Regions from separate parts of the Homo sapiens genome. Here region 1 is linked to region 2. Evidence: promoter capture Hi-C in human tissues and cell types (Jung and others, 2019). All regions are on one chromosome and are shown on one strand. Each heading gives the region's core, a stretch centred on a gene start or on the middle of the fragment in contact. The rest is flanking DNA. Distances are from core to core; before and after follow the strand shown.

Region 1 (4,361 bases), core at 1,278-3,777, 510 kb after region 2:
TATCCTATCCTATTGTATTACTGCTTAAAACACAGTGCCTGGCTTGTGACAGGCACTTGCTCCTTGTTGACCAAATGAGGACAGAGTGGATCATCCATTCGGAATCTTAGTATTGAAAGGTAGGAGTGAAGAATTTTTAAAAGTTAGTAGAAATCACATCTAAATAACATATAACTCTCTTTTTTGCCATAACGAAATAACTGAAAGATAGAACTTTTTAAAATTTCTCACTTTAAATGTTTTTAATGAGACCAGTGAGAGAATGAATTTTATTCATGAAGTCTCCATTTTCCATTGAAGCTGCACTATCTGTTGCTGTGCTTAACAAGTTGATAGCTTTACTTATGGCAATTTTTATGGAACTGCTTTCTCCATCTGCAGTGAGAAGACTGAGAAGCATTTTTCTGATTCATATATCTACGTGTATCCTTTTCTTCATGATTCTTGGAGAAGCCTTGCAGAAATAGTCAGTAAACAGTATTGAATACTTACTACTTTCAAGGTGCCGCTTGATACAGTGAAGCCATGATATACAAGTCCTGGCCATGTGGATTTTGAAGTATGTGGTTGATGTCATGTCTCCTTTAGGCTGGATTCTCTCCTGCAATGGAAGCTGCCCTCTCGAGTTCTTTCTCCAGTATTGACTCTTAACGTAATTACATGTCCTTACCCCCGCTAAGGACGTCAGTGTCTTTATCACACCCCTGCCCTCAGGTTAAAAGGGGAAGAAATCACATCATTTATAAAAGCAGTGATGGAACATCAGTCTTTTTAAGAAAAAAATAGAAGTTTATGATTGTCTCATCACAGTCAACTGGCAATTCATTACTGCAGTAGCAAGGAGATATCCCAGACCTCTGGCTTTGCTGTCAAGATTGAGTGCTGGGGTAGTTTTTACTCAGCATTAAAGATTTCATTGGCCATGCTGTTTTGTCGGGTATCTGTTTAAGATGTAGCAGTGTGATTTTTACTAACCTGATTTTAGAGATTTTCAGTGTGTCACATTTAAATAATCTACTTTTGAAAACAGTAGTGTCTATTTGAGTATGTTGCTCACCGGGGAATGTGGCCTCTAAAAGCAACCATAAGATCCAAGAACAGAGCAGTGAGGGCCATGACCATTAGATGACTTCCACGAAGCAGTCTGTGACTCTGTTGGTTGAAATCCCCCACACTTTCCTTTCCTTCTTCAAACCTGTTTCTCTATCCTTTGGTTATGATTGGCTCCTGGCTGGATAAAGTGGTGCTGCTTCTGGGATAAAGCTGTAATCAGGCGCTTGAGTCTACTTCTACTGGAAGATCCCAGATGAATGGGAAACCCCATGAGCTCTGGCTTGCCTAAGGCAAAGCTGAGATTTGAGATCCAGGCCAGACGAGGGTCCCCCCCTCTATCAGAATCTCCACTCTCAAAGTACAGGTACTTCTTTACTTAACATAGAACCGAATTTCTGAGGTTTCCTAAAGAGACAACCAGGGAAGGATTTCCTGTGTCTGTCTCCTCTCATTCTCTGGGAAGTCTTAAAATTTTTCAGCTTAGACTGCTTCCTTCTTTAAATTCTAAATTGAATACCCTTATGTCCGTTTGATATGTATATTATTATTATATTCCTGGATTTTATTCTTGAACCCAGTTGGAGTTTCAAGGCAAACATTTGGTTTTCTGTCAGCCCACAAACTGAGCAATGGTTGGTCAATTATGGTCTTCTGTTGACTGAGGCAGAGTCGCATGTTAAAAGTATATTTTATTAATAGCCCACAAAGCATACCAACTGCCAGCTTTTTGCCATGTCTAACTTTGAGCAATATTTAGTAACAATATTCCCAGTTTTCATCTGTGGGTTACTTAAATGTGTCATCCAGGAAGTCACTGTAAGATACGTTGGTGAAAAAGCCTTCAAGCTTAGATATTGTGTATTCTGCTTACCTGCTTACCAACTCATGCTTCCCAGAGTACCTAACTCACAAACGTGCCTCAAATGCAGAAAAGCAAATCTAGTTCAGTATTATACAGGACTGGTAATGTCCTGGCTGTTTGCTCTATGGTGTGCTTGTTAATCAGCAGTAGATGATTGTGGCACATACCTATTCTTGGTCCTGAAACCACCCTTCTGTCAACAATAGTGCCTGCCTTCTTCCTGGGAACTCATCCCCACTCTGGCTTCAATCAAGTGGTTTCAGTACAAGCTGCTGTGTTTCCATAGTATCTTCTACTCTCTAGGTCATGGACCAGGGGTAGCAACCAGACTCAAATCAGGCCAATCAGAATCCTTTCCTAAGATTTTTTTTTTTAATTGGAATTAGGAAAAAGAATTATTCTTAGTCCAGAGGCCTGGATTTCAGCAAACAAAGCTCGGGAGCTGTTGGTGGCCAGTTTTCATTGCTGAGCTGCAATGAGAAAATTAAGGCTAAAATGCAGACAAAACAAGTAGGAGTTAAGAGAGTTCTAGAGGAGTTTTAAATATCTGGTTTAGTTGTTGCAGAGGCTAGCTGTATCCTTGCCGTTCCCATCTTTTGATCATTTAAACCAGTGGCTCGTGCAATTTTGCTTCTAGGGGATATTTGCCAATATCTGGAGACATTTTTGGTTATTACAGCTAGGGGGCTACTACTGGCATCTAGCAGAAAGAGGCCAGGAATGCTGCTAAACATTCTACAATGTACAGCTCTCCCACAAACACCCCCACCTCCGCCCCCAGACAAAGTATTATCCAGCCCAAAATGTCAATAGGGCTTAGGTTGATAAAACCTGAACTTTAACCCATCCTTCATACATTACCTTAGTATTTTTCAAATCTCCTCTCCTTCTGTTTTGGAAAGCTAGCTAGAATTAGTTTATGCTTAAGAGGACCTTAACCTAGGGGCATACACACACACACACACACACACACACACACACACACACACACACACACTAATCATGAGTGTTGTTTGGTGATTGTATGTATTTTCAGTCCCATATTTAAGATTTTTCAGTTTATAGCTGCCCTAGTATACAAATACGCCATCACCCAGGTTTAGAAGGACTATTGATTCCCCTACCACATAGATTCAAATAGCTACTTCTAGACTGCCTTGGGTACCTAAACAATACATATTCCAAACTATTGAAGCAAAGGCTATTCAGAAATTGCTACTAGGATTGCATCAAAATTATGCTGTCCTCCCTAAGATTTGTTTTACGATTAATATTCAACTCATGTATTAGAGATGAAATCACTATTTTTAGGAATGATTATGATAAAAATCAAGTGTTCAGTTTCATAGAACAAAACATAGCTGTCATATGAAGTCCTTGATAAAGCATTGCTGGCACAAGGAACTGTGAGAGTCCACATTAGCGTAGGCTGGACAAGCTGCATTCCTCTTTGAAACTGTCAGAATGCATTGTACCTTTGATTCATCTTCCAACCTACATTCAAGCCATGGCATGGATTTCTTTTTTTAAATGTTTTAAATTTTACTTTAAGTTCTAGGATACATGTGCAGAATGTGCAGGTTTGTTACATAGGTATACATGTGCCATGGTGGTTTGCTGTACCTGTCAACCCGTCATATAGGTTTTAAGCCCTGCATGCATTAGGCGTTTGTCCTAATGCTCTCCCTCCCCCTTGTCTTCCACCCCACAACAGGCTCCAGTGTGTGTTGTTCCCCTCCCTGTGTCCATGTGTTCTCCTTGTTCAATTCCCACTTATGAGTGAGAACAAGTGGTGTTTGGTTTTCTGTTCCTGTGTTAGTTTGCTGAGAATGATGGCTTCCAGCTTCATCCATGTCCCTGCAAAGGACGTGATCTCATTCTTTTTTATGGTTGCATAGTATTCCACGGTGTATATGTGCCACATTTGCTTTATCCAGTCTATCATTGATGGGCCTTTGGGTTCGTTCCATGTCTTTGCCATTGTAAATAGTGCTGCAAAAAACATACATGTGCATGTGTCTTTATAGTAGAATGATTTATAATCCTTTGGGTATACACCTAGTAATGGGATTGCTGGGTCAAATGGTATTTCTGGTTCTAGATCCTTGAGGAATCTCCACACTGTATTCCACAATGGTTGAACTAATTTACACTCCCACCAACAGTGTAAAAACGTTCCTATTTCTCCACAGCCTCTCCAGCATCTCTGTTTCCTGACTTTTTAATAATTGCATGTCATGGATTTCTTGATGGACAGATTGATGAAAAGAATGTTAATGAATAACTTGACAAGGAGGATCTGAGACATGTAGCAGGTACCTGCAGTTAATCACCTAGATTAAGACCCAGATTTAAGATTACTTATATTTTACACACAATCTTTTTTTCTTAACTTTCTTTGACTAATTTTTTTAAAAAACTATGACTGGGGATGATCTGTGTTTCT
Region 2 (3,812 bases), core at 208-2,707:
CTGCTCTTCCCAGCTTCACATCCCCCGAGGCCCTCAGTTTCCTCGCCTGGGAATTGGGAATAACCCCATTCACTTCATTGGCTGGCTGTGAGGGTCATAGCGTTCCCAATGGCAGCTGGCCTGGTGGCTGCTGGTATGTAAGTCATGTTCAGTGTTAAGGAAGAATCTTCTCCCTTTTGACAGTTCCTTCTTGCTTGTTGCCTGATCTTGGGCAGCCTGAGGACCCCAACTCATCTCTGCCTGCAAGAGTCCTGCTCCTCACCCATCCTGCCCTGTGGGATGGAAGAATGGCAGGAGGACAGGGCCTGAAGTCTCATCCCAACCCATGTGCCTCCAGCTTTGTGACCTCCAGCAAGTTGCTGGAACTCTTGAGCCTCAGTTTTCCCACCTGGAAAATGGGACTCTTTTCTGTGGCACCTACCTCACAGAGACAATTGCTGGATTTAACAGAGACAGTGCTATTAGCTCCGATCACTTGGAAACACACAATGGGCCTGGCATGAGGCTTGCTCAGTCATGCTATATCCTGTTGATTCCTCACTATGGCCTTTTGAGTGAGCCACTCTCACCAGCCTCATCTCACAGATAAGGAGATGGAGGAAACACTGAAGAAACTTGCCCAAGGTCAAAGCCAGAAGGCGGTGACCCTGCTTTGCACCCACGGCGTCTAAGTGGAGAGCCTAGACCTTTACCTGCCACTGTCTTGGGAAGTTAGCCCTGAGGGAGATGCACTTCTTGAAAACTAACCCTTCCTGAGGGTCTGCTCTCCCTCGGGGCCTGTGCTGGGAGCTTGAGGTAGAAGAGGGTGGGGGTACTCACACTCCCCACACATACGGCCGCTCAGTGAGCCCATCCTCCGGACCGAGAGACACACACGGCTTCTGAGAGGCTGGGGGCCCTGGCCCAAGGCTCACCTACCTGGTTAGCGATTGATGGACGAGGACACCGGTGGCCTGACCGCAGCTCTGCATCCCTGCTCCACTGCGGGCTGCCTGGAGGGAGGGATGCTCAGTCATCCCCTGCTAGTCCCTTTCCCTCCTGGCACTATATCCATTTTGACAAACCGTGCCATCCAAACCCAGGCCTGACTGCCCACTCCTCTCCTCTGACCCTCCCCTCCTTCCATCTCTGTCCTCCTCTTATCCCCCACCCCTCTCCATCTGCTGTTCCTGCCTTTTCAGGAAAAGTCCCTGTGCAGAAAGAAATTTCTTGCTGAAAGTGTGGGGGAGGCAAAGCCACCCTCTGTCACCCCCTCCTCCAGGCAGCCCCTCCTCTTAACCTGGGGCTTTCGTGTCTGAGAGGATTCCTGTCCCGACCCTGCCCGGTGGGCGTGCTGGCTTCCTCTCTGCCACCCTGGATGGACCGCAGCCTGCGCTGGCCCCACAGGAAGTGGAGGCGTGGAGCCGCCCTGGACCACCCCCAGCCTGCATAAAGGGGCGGTCGGCGAGGCTGCACCAGCGCCTGGCACCATGAGGACGCCTGGGCCTCTGCCCGTGCTGCTGCTGCTCCTGGCGGGAGCCCCCGCCGCGCGGCCCACTCCCCCGACCTGCTACTCCCGCATGCGGGCCCTGAGCCAGGAGATCACCCGCGACTTCAACCTCCTGCAGGTCTCGGAGCCCTCGGTGAGTCCCCCGCCCGCTCAGGACAGGGGTGCATGGCAGACCCAGTTCTTAAACCCTTGCCTTTACACGAAAAAAAAAAGAGAGAGAGAGAGAAAAGGATATTTTTCTTTTCTAGTAAATGTAAATCTCAGGAGTATTTGTGTTTTATTCATCTCCTTTTAAATATGATACCAATGGTTTGCTTTCTTCAAAACACAAGAAAAAGTAAAGACAACACAATTTTTGTGACTTACTAGCAAATATCAAAGGATCTGTTGTAAAATGTAAAAAAAAAAAAAAAAAAAAAAAAGAAAAAAGAAAAAAAAAGGAGTGGGAGGATGGGGAGAAAAACAGCTCCCCATCAGAGTTAAGGAGGACGGAGGAATGAAGCTTGTGTATTGCTTTTGTTAGCCTAGTGAGGAGTGTGCCCTAAGAGGTGGCTCACAGAACTGGCCTCCGCCCCTCATCTGCTGAGGGACCCGGGCAAATTTCTCAGCCTCTGCCTTTCAGTTTTCTTGTCTGTAAAATGGGATGACAGTAGCACCCCTCCCTTTAGAGTGGCTTTGACGATCAAAGGCAGGTGTGAACACAGGCAGGGCTCACAGAGCCAAGCCTACAGGAACAAGTACTCAACAGATGCCAGCTGATGTGAGCACGATCTTCAGAGGCAGATCTGGGGACTCAGAGAGGGGAAGACCCGGGAGGGCTTTTGGGGACTAGAACCCAGGCCTCTGCCTGCTTCTCCGTCGAAACAAAATGCATTAAACTTCATTAAAAGCTTTTGTAAAGTTTCAAAGTGTCTTTTAATCACTTGCAAATGCTTCAAACAAAACATAATGTTTCTCAGATGTTGGGGTTTACAAAAGCCTAGCTAACACCTTCTTGGTATTTTCTTTTTAAAAGTTAAATAACATGTATTTTTTCCCTAATTATAAAAGTATTGTACTTTGTAGAACAGTTGGAAAATAAAGTACAAAGAAGAAAAAAAATCTTGCTTGTAATTCTACCACCTAGAGGTAGCTGCTGCCGTAGCATTGTGGAGGATCATATTTCAGCTTTCTGTCTACATATAGGTATTCAAATACGTGTGTGTTGTGTGTGTGTGTGTGTGTAAACAAAATTTGGGTCAAACAGCACAAGCAGTTTTGCAACTTACTTTTTAATGACACTATCAAATAAGTTCATTTTTGTTTTAACATTTTGTTGTACAGTTTCACCACAATTTACCCACAAGTTTCTTGTTATCGAATATAGACAGCAATCATCTTTTAAAGGAATCTGATTTTAAAAGGTTTAAAAAGTTCAGAGGCTCTGAACCACAGAGCGGGAAGAAAGTGGAAAGATTATGCATTCTAAATCTCTAATTTCACAACTGAGGACTGAAGGAAGGCACTTGCCCATGGTCACACGGGGATTACTGAGAGGGCAGAGCACGAGGGCTTTTGCCCTTCAGCCCTGCGCAAAAACGGAAGCCCAATATAGAAATATAAAAGTATGCAAATTTATGCACTTCGATATTACTATATTATACACTATATACAACTACATATTAGCTATAGAATGCCTATAGAACAATAGGTATTATTACATATATCGTACTTATGTAAGTATATATAATGTCTATAATTACATGCAGTTATACAACTGTTATATAGCTAATATACTTATATAAGTTATTATATAAGTATATTATTATATAAGTTACTATATAACTAACTTATACAACTGTTATATAACTAAATAGTTATAGAACTGTTTTATAGATGTACATATATACTCTGTATGTATACTTGTATTACTGTATTATATATCACTATTTCTATATTACAGTTATAGGACTGCTTTTATGTATATACGTGTATGTATATTTCTGAATGGGTATGCATATAAAACAGCTCCCTGGTTCATAGCAAATGATATAAAAGTTGTATTCTAAAAGTCTAATTCCGGAAGCGCAGTCGCCCATTTCTGGAGGAGTGTGACGTATGACACAAGAAAGTACTGTGCATGTCGTAGCATCAGGGAGGGCCCCAGGGATCTGGGCTGGTCTGGCTGTTGAGAGGGCCACTAGGGAGACTTTTGTGACCAGGTATGCCCCTGTGGGCATCCCAGAACCCCTTATCCCTTTCCACAGGAGCCATGTGTGAGATACCTGCCCAGGCTGTACCTGGACATACACGTAAGAGGGTTCTCCCTGGGGGAGGGAGGTCT

What was found. The method cuts DNA at HindIII sites, captures the fragments that hold promoters and counts their contacts. A contact is called where the count stands out against the background at its distance.
Region 1: a contact is called between a fragment that was not itself captured here and the fragment with the promoter of CYTL1 in region 2, in 1 of the 25 tissues and cell types used here (lymphoblastoid cells).

What each region holds. Positions count from the first base shown.
Region 1 is chr4:4,510,265-4,514,625 of GRCh38, reverse strand. All of the region lies in intron 1 of STX18 (syntaxin 18), which reads left to right. Among named protein-coding and RNA genes, the nearest start is that of STX18, 30 kb to the left of the region's middle. The HindIII fragment of the contact is 4,474 bases long and covers 291-4,361 here.
Region 2 is chr4:5,017,103-5,020,914 of GRCh38, reverse strand. CYTL1 (cytokine like 1) reads left to right here and starts at 1,457. Exons shown (of 4, transcript NM_018659.3): 1 at 1,457-1,622; 2 at 3,736-3,780. The coding sequence starts at 1,470. It also overlaps a transcript of STK32B not described here. The HindIII fragment of the contact is 2,782 bases long and covers 1-2,185 here.